Regions from separate parts of the Homo sapiens genome. Here regions 2 and 3 are each linked to region 1. Evidence: promoter capture Hi-C in 16 types of primary human blood cells and fetal thymus (Javierre and others, 2016). All regions are on one chromosome and are shown on one strand. The core of a region is centred on a gene start or on the middle of the fragment in contact, and the rest is flanking DNA. Distances in the headings are between cores, read along the strand shown.

The links. Contacts are between HindIII fragments. The CHiCAGO score rates a contact against its expected background, and 5 or more counts as called.
Region 2: a contact is called between the fragment with the promoter of NT5E here and the fragment with the promoter of TTK in region 1, in 1 of 17 cell types (total B cells). The highest score is 6.2, in total B cells.
Region 3: a fragment that was not itself captured here is called in contact with the fragment with the promoter of TTK in region 1 in 1 of 17 cell types (total B cells); the score reaches 6.4 in total B cells.

Annotation. Positions count from the first base shown.
Region 1 is chr6:80,003,396-80,006,736 of GRCh38, forward strand. It overlaps TTK (TTK protein kinase), which reads left to right and starts at 1,254. Exons shown (of 22, transcript NM_003318.5): 1 at 1,254-1,318; 2 at 2,447-2,587. The coding sequence starts at 2,449. RefSeq lists enhancers at 291-1,165, 736-855. The HindIII fragment of the contact is 2,460 bases long and covers 97-2,556 here.
Region 2 is chr6:85,448,390-85,451,538 of GRCh38, forward strand. It overlaps NT5E (5'-nucleotidase ecto), which reads left to right and starts at 1,694. Exons shown (of 9, transcript NM_002526.4): 1 at 1,694-2,089. The coding sequence starts at 1,751. RefSeq lists a silencer at 1,487-1,756. The HindIII fragment of the contact is 6,289 bases long and covers 1-3,149 here.
Region 3 is chr6:85,606,901-85,610,194 of GRCh38, forward strand. It overlaps a transcript of SYNCRIP not described here. Among named protein-coding and RNA genes, the nearest start is that of SNX14, 15 kb to the left of the region's middle. The HindIII fragment of the contact is 815 bases long and covers 959-1,773 here.

The sequences.
Region 1 (3,341 bases), core at 4-2,503:
TTTAAAAATAGAAGACTGAAGGAGACCACCAAACGAGAGTACAGAAAGAAGTGTTAGGGTGAGGTCATCCAGCAACAGTATTTTAAGGAAAATGCAAGCTTTGTGATCAGGCCGCAAACAGATCAACGAGAATTGGAGGAATAATAAACTCTTTCCAGGCAGAAGCATTAGATGCAATGGTGCAAAGGTAAGTGATTAGCCAACCATGGTATAGCAAGTCATTTTGCTCTGCTGAAGCAGAAATACTAGCTAGCTGACACAGAAAGATGCATTAAGTGATTGAGAAGGGCTCTCACGCTAGCTGGGTGGCTATCCAGAGCTGGGAATGTGAGGGTTCTAAGGATAGCTTTGGAGTTAACAAGTGACAGCTGCAGTTAGTTTCCTATACATACACAAAACCAACCCGTCCTACCACAGAATATATGTCATAATGCTGGCACAACAGACACATCCCTTTTAGTTTTGCAGACGAGGAGTAACCGTTGCCCTGGACCACAAAGCCACTTAGCGGCAGAGCCTCGCACCCGCGAAGATTATTACTAGGGAGATGTTTTTACCCCTGAGGACACCTGAGCCCTTAAGTGGGGCAGGCTTCGAGGGAGGGGGGCCGATAAGGCGACTTCAGACAGGGCAATCACGATGGGCGCTTGAGTTCTGCGCAGAATTTTGACAAGGGGGAGGGTCTTGGCTTGAAGACAGAGCGTGGAGTCATTTAAGGATAATGGAAGGGCATAAGCAGAAGCTCAAGGATAAAAAGCACTGAAATTCTTGAGCTGGCGGCAGGGCTGAACGTAGCTCAGTGAAAGATCCTTTCTTGCCACATCCTCTCTAAGCCAGGCTGTGAGAACCGCGGGAAACGAAGGAGAAGGGTGGCGGTGGGGTCAGTAAAGGGCCGGCCCAAGGTGCATCTTTTAGGTCCTGATGCTAGGAGCAGCCGTCCCTGCCCCTATATTCCTCTCACTGGGTAGGTTTGCTCGGGAGTGGCTACCTCCCAGGCAAAAATTCGGCCTGGTTAAACTGGAAAGACCAGGAAAGCCCGCCCACGGGCGTCCGGGGAACGCCTGCAAAGTGCCAGCACCCTACCAACCCAGGCGCCGCACGGGTGGGGTCGCGGCCGCAGGCTCTTCCGGGGCGGGCCTAGCCTGACGCAGGAGGAGGGGCGGCCCCCGTCGCACAAGAACCAATCACGACTGTCGCTTCTACGTGGCTAGCATTGACCAATAGGAGACCGTAGTGATAGCGACGGGGAAATTCAAACGTGTTTGCGGAAAGGAGTTTGGGTTCCATCTTTTCATTTCCCCAGCGCAGCTTTCTGTAGGTAAGTTCTGTCTTACCGGTGCACCGGCGCACTGAGGAACAGCCGCAGCCGGTGTAGGGGCTCATTGTTAGCGCTGGTCGGTGAGGGGTGGGGCGAGGTGGGGGCAGCTCGGAGCCAGGTATGCGACGCGGCTAAACGAGCTGGAGGGGGAGGGGATGTCTCACTGCCTCAGCGGGTCTGGCCGGTGGGGTGATGCAGGAGGTTTTGTTGAGGAAGTAAGAAGTGGGTGTGGCCCACGCTGGAAAGAAGGGGTGGTGGGGTACCTGCGCACAAGATCGTTTTCCAAAGGACAGTCTCTCTTGTTTTGGGGGTTAGAACTGGGAAAGAAGCGGGTGGCCGTGATCTGACAGTTATCTTTCAAACCTGACTTAAGAGGTGGAGTGATACCTTGCTGCAACTTTATGACTTTTTTTCATTGTTAAACCTGAAGACGGGGCAGCATTGTTATCAGTGACACTGAGTTGGTGTTTGAGAGTCACAAAGATACGATTAACAATAAGACTGCAGACACTTTATTGAACAAACACCACCACCATGCAGATAAGCAAGTGCTCAGTACCAGTACAATAGTTTCTTAGTGTTAGATTAAGGTAGCAAATCGTGATTCTGCTAGATATGCACAAGAATAAATCTGCGGATTTCCTAATTATCAGTAAAGCCCCATCATGTTTATATTCTGCTTTGAAAGCACTTGCACTGGAAGATTTACTCAAGTAAAGCAGGCGAATAAAGGAATTGTTATTCCCATTGCCAAACGAATTCTTTATGTCTATGTCACTACCAGAATCCAAGCAATCTTTATGTGTATGTCGCTACCAAAATCCAAGCAAACACTCTATCATATTTTTTTTAAGTGACACTAAATTTGCAGATTTCTACAGTGTGACGTCATTGATGTTATATTGGGGGAAAAAGTATACTTGGCCTATGAAACCTTGGTGAATAAATTACAAAGATGTGTACCTTGTTGTTGTGCACTTACCTCCATTAATACTAGCCTAATAATAGCTGCATTTAGATGTGTTCACAAAACGAATGCTTTAGTCGTCTGGGTTCTAAAAAGCTAGTGCATTTTTTTCTTTGATGCTAGTTAAAGTAGGAGTTATGACTGTTCAGTTTTTTTCTTAGAAATGGAATCCGAGGATTTAAGTGGCAGAGAATTGACAATTGATTCCATAATGAACAAAGTGAGAGACATTAAAAATAAGTTTAAAAATGAAGACCTTACTGATGAACTAAGCTTGAATAAAATTTCTGCTGATACTACAGGTGAGTTTTTCTTTTCTTTTAAGTTAGTAACTGTTTGTTGGGTATCCTCTAAGGTAAAGATATAGTACTAATCACTTTATTTATAATTTACTCATGTGTTTATTGTCTTTCTCCTCCATTAGAATGCAGGCTACATGATGGCAGGGTTTTTGTCTGTTATATCCACAGAACTTTGAATGGTGTCTGGCACATGGTAGGTAGGCACTTAAACATTTATTGAACAATGATTAATGGGTGAAAATGCCCAGAGTTTAATACTCTAGCTCTTCTAAAAGTATTAGCTCAGAAGCCTGATTCTTTACTGTATTTCAAATGGTTGGTCATTTGAATGGTGACCTTTGGATAATTTTCTTACATCTATACTAACCTTTAAATAGATGAGGAATTGAAAATAAATGGAAGAACCTGTGATCTAATCATGGTGGCTGACTGTTCACTTTGAAAAAACCTAGAAAATGATAGTTTTAGTGTTAAGCAAAATCTTAATGGAGTATAATTGTGCTTAATTATGTCACTAACAAAGGTTGTACATCAAGGCAATTGAGTATTTTAAGTACTGAGGAAGATTCAAAGATGCTTAAAACCATAGTTTCTTTCTAGATGAGAATTTATATATTCACTATGCTACATTGTAATGCATGCTGGGCATCATAGGAATACTAGCATGATAAAACACAAATGTTTTATTTGTTGATTAGAGGAAGAATAGGGTACTCAGGCATGAGGAATGCATCTGCAAAGCCACAGATGGCAA
Region 2 (3,149 bases), core at 444-2,943, 5.4 Mb after region 1:
GATACCAGGCAATGAGAAAGGCACATAATCTCTGTAGCATTCTTCCTAAACATCCACAGCTTCAGTCCAATCATGAGAAAACATCAGACAAACCCAAACTGAGGGATAGTATACAGAAACCAGTACTGTTCAAAAGTGTCAAGGTTTTTGAAGACAACTGACTGAGAAACTGTCACAGATTAGAGGAGGCTAAGAACACAGGAAAACTAACTGCAATATGGTATCCTGAATTGGGTCCTGGAATAGAAAACGGACATTAGTGGAACAGTTGGTGAAATTAAAATAAAATCAGTAACACAGTTAATAGTTTCGTATCACTGTTAAGTTTTTAGTTTCATTGGTTATATAAGCTGTTAACATAAGGCAATATGGGTGATGGGTATGTGGGAACTCCCTTTATTACCTTTGCAACTTTTCTGTAAGTCTAAAATCATTCTTTTTTTAAGTTAAAACAGCAAAACTACCAGTTCTTTTACCTGCTTCTAGCAGGTGCTCAAAGAGGGACAGAGCAAAACCTTGCAAAGCATGACATTAGAGGGTGTCCCAGAAGCAAGGGTCTTCTGTAGCCCCAGGCACTGCTGCTCCCAAACTGCATGGCCTTTCTTGGCAAATGATTTACAATCTCCGAACCTCAGGTCAATGTCTTAAAAACGGGCACAGAATGTCTTTTCAACAAATGGTACTAAGAAAACTGGATATCCACATGAAAAAGAGTAAATGTGGACTCATACCACATATGAAAATTAACTCAAAATGGATTAAAGGTCTAAGAGTTTAAATTATAAAACTCTTAGGAGAAAACATAGAGGAAAATCTTCCTAACATTGTATTTGGCTATGACTTCACTGCGACACCGAAAGCACACGCGACAAAATAAAAATAAAATAAAATAAAATAAGACCAGAAAAGCAAAGAAGGGCAGCATCCCTTCCCGTCCTGATAGCTGCCGGATTTTACCCCAATCGTGTTTCTGCTTCCAGGAGCTGTCCGCGCGTCGCCTCTGTTTTATCACTAAGGTTTTAATTGTGAATAAACAAGGAACTGGATTCGAATGATTTCTTAGTTTCTGAGATTTTTTTGTCTAAGCATCGTAGACTTCGTGCGTTCTCAACCCAACAGGAAGCGTCACATCTCAGTGAGCTTCGGCTCTCACAGCCCGAAACTGCAAGGAGCTCCTCTGCCCGGCCTCTCTTTACTCCTCCTCTCTGCCCCTCAGCTCGCTCATCTTTCTTCCCGCCCCCTCTCTTTTCCTTCTTTGGTTCTTTGAAGTGATGAGCTAGCGCAACCACAAACCATACATTCCTTTTGTAGAAAAACCCGTGCCTCGAATGAGGCGAGACTCAGAGAGGACCCAGGCGCGGGGCGGACCCCTCCAATTCCTTCCTCGCGCCCCCGAAAGAGCGGCGCACCAGCAGCCGAACTGCCGGCGCCCAGGCTCCCTGGTCCGGCCGGGATGCGGCCGGTACCCGCTCCCCGCCGGGAACAACCTCTCCACTCTTCCTGCAGGGAGCTGGTGCCAGCCGACAGCCGCGCCAGGGCCGCTCCGGGTACCAGGGTCGGATCGGGTGACGTCGCGAACTTGCGCCTGGCCGCCAAGCCGGCCTCCAGGCTGAAGAAGGACCCGCCCCGGCCTTGACCCGGGCCCCGCCCCTCCAGCCGGGGCACCGAGCCCCGGCCCTAGCTGCTCGCCCCTACTCGCCGGCACTCGCCCGGCTCGCCCGCTTTCGCACCCAGTTCACGCGCCACAGCTATGTGTCCCCGAGCCGCGCGGGCGCCCGCGACGCTACTCCTCGCCCTGGGCGCGGTGCTGTGGCCTGCGGCTGGCGCCTGGGAGCTTACGATTTTGCACACCAACGACGTGCACAGCCGGCTGGAGCAGACCAGCGAGGACTCCAGCAAGTGCGTCAACGCCAGCCGCTGCATGGGTGGCGTGGCTCGGCTCTTCACCAAGGTTCAGCAGATCCGCCGCGCCGAACCCAACGTGCTGCTGCTGGACGCCGGCGACCAGTACCAGGGCACTATCTGGTTCACCGTGTACAAGGGCGCCGAGGTGGCGCACTTCATGAACGCCCTGCGCTACGATGCCATGGTAAGACCCGAGCCCGCGCCCGGGATAGTAGTCCCGGACTGAGAGAGGAGCCGGGCTGGAAAAGCAGCGGATGGCAGAGTGTGGCAAGCCTAGGTCCAGGGCGCGGAGAGATGTGGGGATAAAGTGAGACTCCGGCCAGTGTGCCAGCTGGATGCATAGAAGTCCCTTGGACGATTCGTCTTAAACGGACGTTATTGCGCCCCCACTATGAGATGGGAGTATTTAGAGGAGCAGGACCCAGTCCTGCCTGCGAGGGGCTTAAGGTGGGGTGCGTAGAAGCACTGACAGTTATCCAGAGCTAGGGACTGAATCGGATCCCTCACGCAGCTCTCATTTACTGCTAGATCTTTCAAAGAATGCTTTATCTCAATCTAGATCTTTCGAAAAATGCTTTATCTCAATCTTATTGAAAGGGAAACCGCGTCGAAGAAGCTGAATAAATTAACAGGCACCATCCCCGCAAAAAGGGAGACGTGATAAGAATGGACACCAGATCTCTTTGACCCCGGAGCTTGAGAGTAATTAAGCTCACAGCTTTGGGGTAGATTCTCTGTTCAATTACCTTCTATGTGACCTTGAGCAAGTTATTTACTCTTTCTTGCCTCAGTTCTATCCTGTATAAAAATAAGGATTATAATTGTACATAGTGCACATAGTGTGGTCTCTATATTATTACCAGACACATAGTGTGGTGTCTATATATGTTGTTATTACCAGACACTATAATATAGGGTTAAGAAAAGGAAAGAAAGAAAGAAAGAGAAAGAAAGAAAGAAACTTCAGAGAGAGCCAAAATGTGGAAAGACTTGGGTTTCAAAGGATTTCAATAAAGTAGGTTTGGCGGCAGAGATTTAGGAAGAGTCCAACTTAAGAGATAATGGGCTCTTAAAACATGTGCAAAAGTTTAGTTCAAAGTCCCAAATGTTAGGTTAAAGGTAATGCCTTTTCTATTGCACTAAATTCTAGAAAGGGAGCAGAGGTGGTTGCACAGTAATAAATAAGTACAACCAAGATGTATATATGGTGGTTAAAAAAAAAATAAAACCACCACCCAAATTTA
Region 3 (3,294 bases), core at 116-2,615, 5.6 Mb after region 1:
AATGAAAAGTGTATTCTGCCATTTTTATAGATGACCTTTAACATTGTTTATTTCTGGTTTTCCTCTAAGTATATTCCAAATATTAAATAAAACTGAGAAATACAATTTGTACATATGCTTTTCTAATTTTTCATGACGTGTTAAACTAAAAGCAACTGGAGGCCTAATTCCTGAGTCTTCCAATTAAAGCAACCAATTAACATAAATACTGACATATTAAAGATATTCTCTTAAAAATGATGTCATAAGGGTTTTAGTATACAGATGCACCTAGCTTTAGCAAATTTGTGTTTAAATGATGCAGTACTCATGTAACACAAATGCCATGTTATTCACATTTCAACTTAAAGTTAACACTATTAACGAGCCATAACAGGTATGCTGGAACTCTTCTTGTATATCATGGTGTTTCTATAATTACAAGACCTAATTTTACCATATGGAACCTACAAAACTCTTTAACAAATTTCTTATTGTCAGCAAGCCCTGGTCTTATTCTTTAATCTGTGGTAACAACTTGTCCACACCAAATACTTTGCCCTTCTGCCCTGAAAACTCAAAAACTGCACATCAAAAATGATATAAAACGCCAAATCCCTTAGGTTTCCTAAAATTCTCTCCAAAACAAGTTGAGTTTGTCACAACAATCTCCTTTTCAGAATACAGCTGAAAGCCTAAAAGAAGGCAAGAAATGACAATTCATAAACATTACAGATAACCTTTATAACTCCTTTCTAGATTAGAACCTGTTGTAAGCCACTTTATAGACAAAGTAGAAAATCAGACAGTCAATTAAGTTTACAGTATATTATCCTAAAATAACCTTATTTTGATCCCACTGTGTTAGAAACCCATTTTAGGAAGCTGTAACACTTGGAGACACTAATTTCCAAAATGGTTTATTAGGACTTCTCCCACACTCAAAGTCAAACTTCCAGGACTGTTCTGAAATGATGAAAGCTTCTTTTCGATAATCAATATAAATGTTGTTAATCCAAAATAGAAACTAAAACCTGCACTAAGTGACCTAAAAAGTCTTGTCCTGATGGAAGTGGCCAAAACTGCTCGTCCCGCAACCAAGAAATCCTAGGGGTATAAGCTAAAACCCACAAATATATTGGCAAGTCCCCGATTCTTTCCAAATTACCACTAACTTTATCAAATCCAATGGCAAGTACGGGACAACAGAATATTTCCATCAAAAATTAAGACCAGCCTAATACATTTATTCTATTCATCTTCCAGTAATGTGATTGCAACTGAGGATATCTTGAGGAATTTTTCACCATTGGCTAGTTACTTCGAATGTATGGATAATCAAAGGGCGACAGACCTCTAAAGATTCCAAGTGTCTACTTAAAAGCTGTTAAGTGAAGAGTGATGAATTGGAGGACACCCACAATAATTCTTGGACTCCTGGAGATCCTAAGACATGCTACAAAAATAGGTCTTTATTCTTAGGAAAATATAGTCAGAGCTAGCTTCCTTATGCTATACATAAAATCTTAACATCAGAGGCAGTACAGATAGTACAGATAGTTTTTGAACTGATCTCCAAACAAGCACAAACCCACTACGTTGAAAAGAACAGGTAATTTGAGGTTTTTGGCAAAAGACAGTACTTCACACATCTAATCCAAATCAAAGGGCCTGCAGACAGTTTTCAGTGAGATGAAAGGAATGAAATAAATATAAATTCTACGGATAAATAAAACACAATTTAAATAAGCTAACAGAACTAATTTTTTTAAATAAAAATACTAGTCAGGTACAAGCTTTTGTTTCTCAATGCCAGACTTCTAAATATTTACCAGACTACTGTTAATATTAAAAACCTAATCTTTGACCCAGAGCGTTAGTAATAATACTGGTTTGCATCTGCAAATTTTCAAACTGAATGCTTCTGGTCCTGAAAAATATTTTAGGTGTATTACTGAAGGCAGACTGTGGTGCTAATAGAATTTAAGTCTTAAATACTTTTAAAAAGTGACAGACCCCAAAAGTCCATCTACTAATTTGCTAGTTAAAAAATGCCTGTGAGCACTGCTTCATAATTAGCATCTTAAGAAAAGTAGTGGCATGCCCTATTGAGTGGTATCATCACTGAGTAATTAATACACCTTAAAACAATATCCCCACAAGTCTGTTTCTTTTATGTATTTGTCACTTAATTTCTTTAGTCATTAATTTTACACCCACCAGTGAATTCCTATGGCCAGATGAAAATTTTGTGGTATACATAATTAGAGAGAAAATGATCATGGTGGGTATTCCTGTAAGTTTGACGAACTTGAGAAGTTTTAGCACCCTCCCCTAAATGCATGAAGCCCTTCTATTTAATTTCTCTCCTTAAAATAGAGACTACGTAAAATACTCTGTAATAATAAGGGATCTTTTGCTGTTTCTGACAACTTTTGGCTTCGCAGTCAAAAAAGCTGTTCTGAATGTGTCAATTTTTGCCTATCTAGCTTGATGTTCATTCTATTCTTTAAAAACTTTTATATACAATAACTCAGATCACCCCATCAATCCATTTCTATGTTGTTCCTATTTTATCATGAGGAAACTTTACATTTTAAGTCAGATTCACAGTAACTGGTAGAAAAGTTTCTTAAGCTAAAAACTGCAATCATGAGTGTACAACAGTTGTGTGTGTGCACACTCAATTTTCCCTTCATTTTTAACATCTGATTCAGTGGCAATGGCTGAAAACCTTCCACAAAAAGCATGCTTGGGAGAATATATCTAACAAAATTTTCTCACAAAGCAACTTTCTGAAAACTGATAACCTAAATTTATGATCACTTTTGATTGCCAAGTAGTCTGCAGAAACAAAATCTTGCGTCTGTTTTGGTTAGATAACTTAAGTTTTCTTTTTAACATCAGAATGCTTTAAGAATACATTTTTTACCCCAAGGAAGGGACTTGACTCGGATTTAAGACCCTTTCCTTGACAATATACAAAATTTCTTTTAACTTATCACTGTCCATTCTTTGAAGCTGTCAAAGCCAAGAACCCATAAACAAATCACAAATAGCAATAACCTACATTAGTTAACATTCCCCCTTTAACATGTTGACATTTTTACTAAAGGATTAGTTATTTTTGCATTTCCATTTCTCATATCCCATGACATTCCATATAAATTGCATTATTGCTTTATAGGCCACACAACATTCAAAAGTATGTTTATATGCATTGCCTGTTTTTCCTTGATCTGATAAGACTTTGATACTGATTTTACTACAGAAATTTAAGTTTGAAAATACCACAGTTAGTATTTCTTCTCAGAA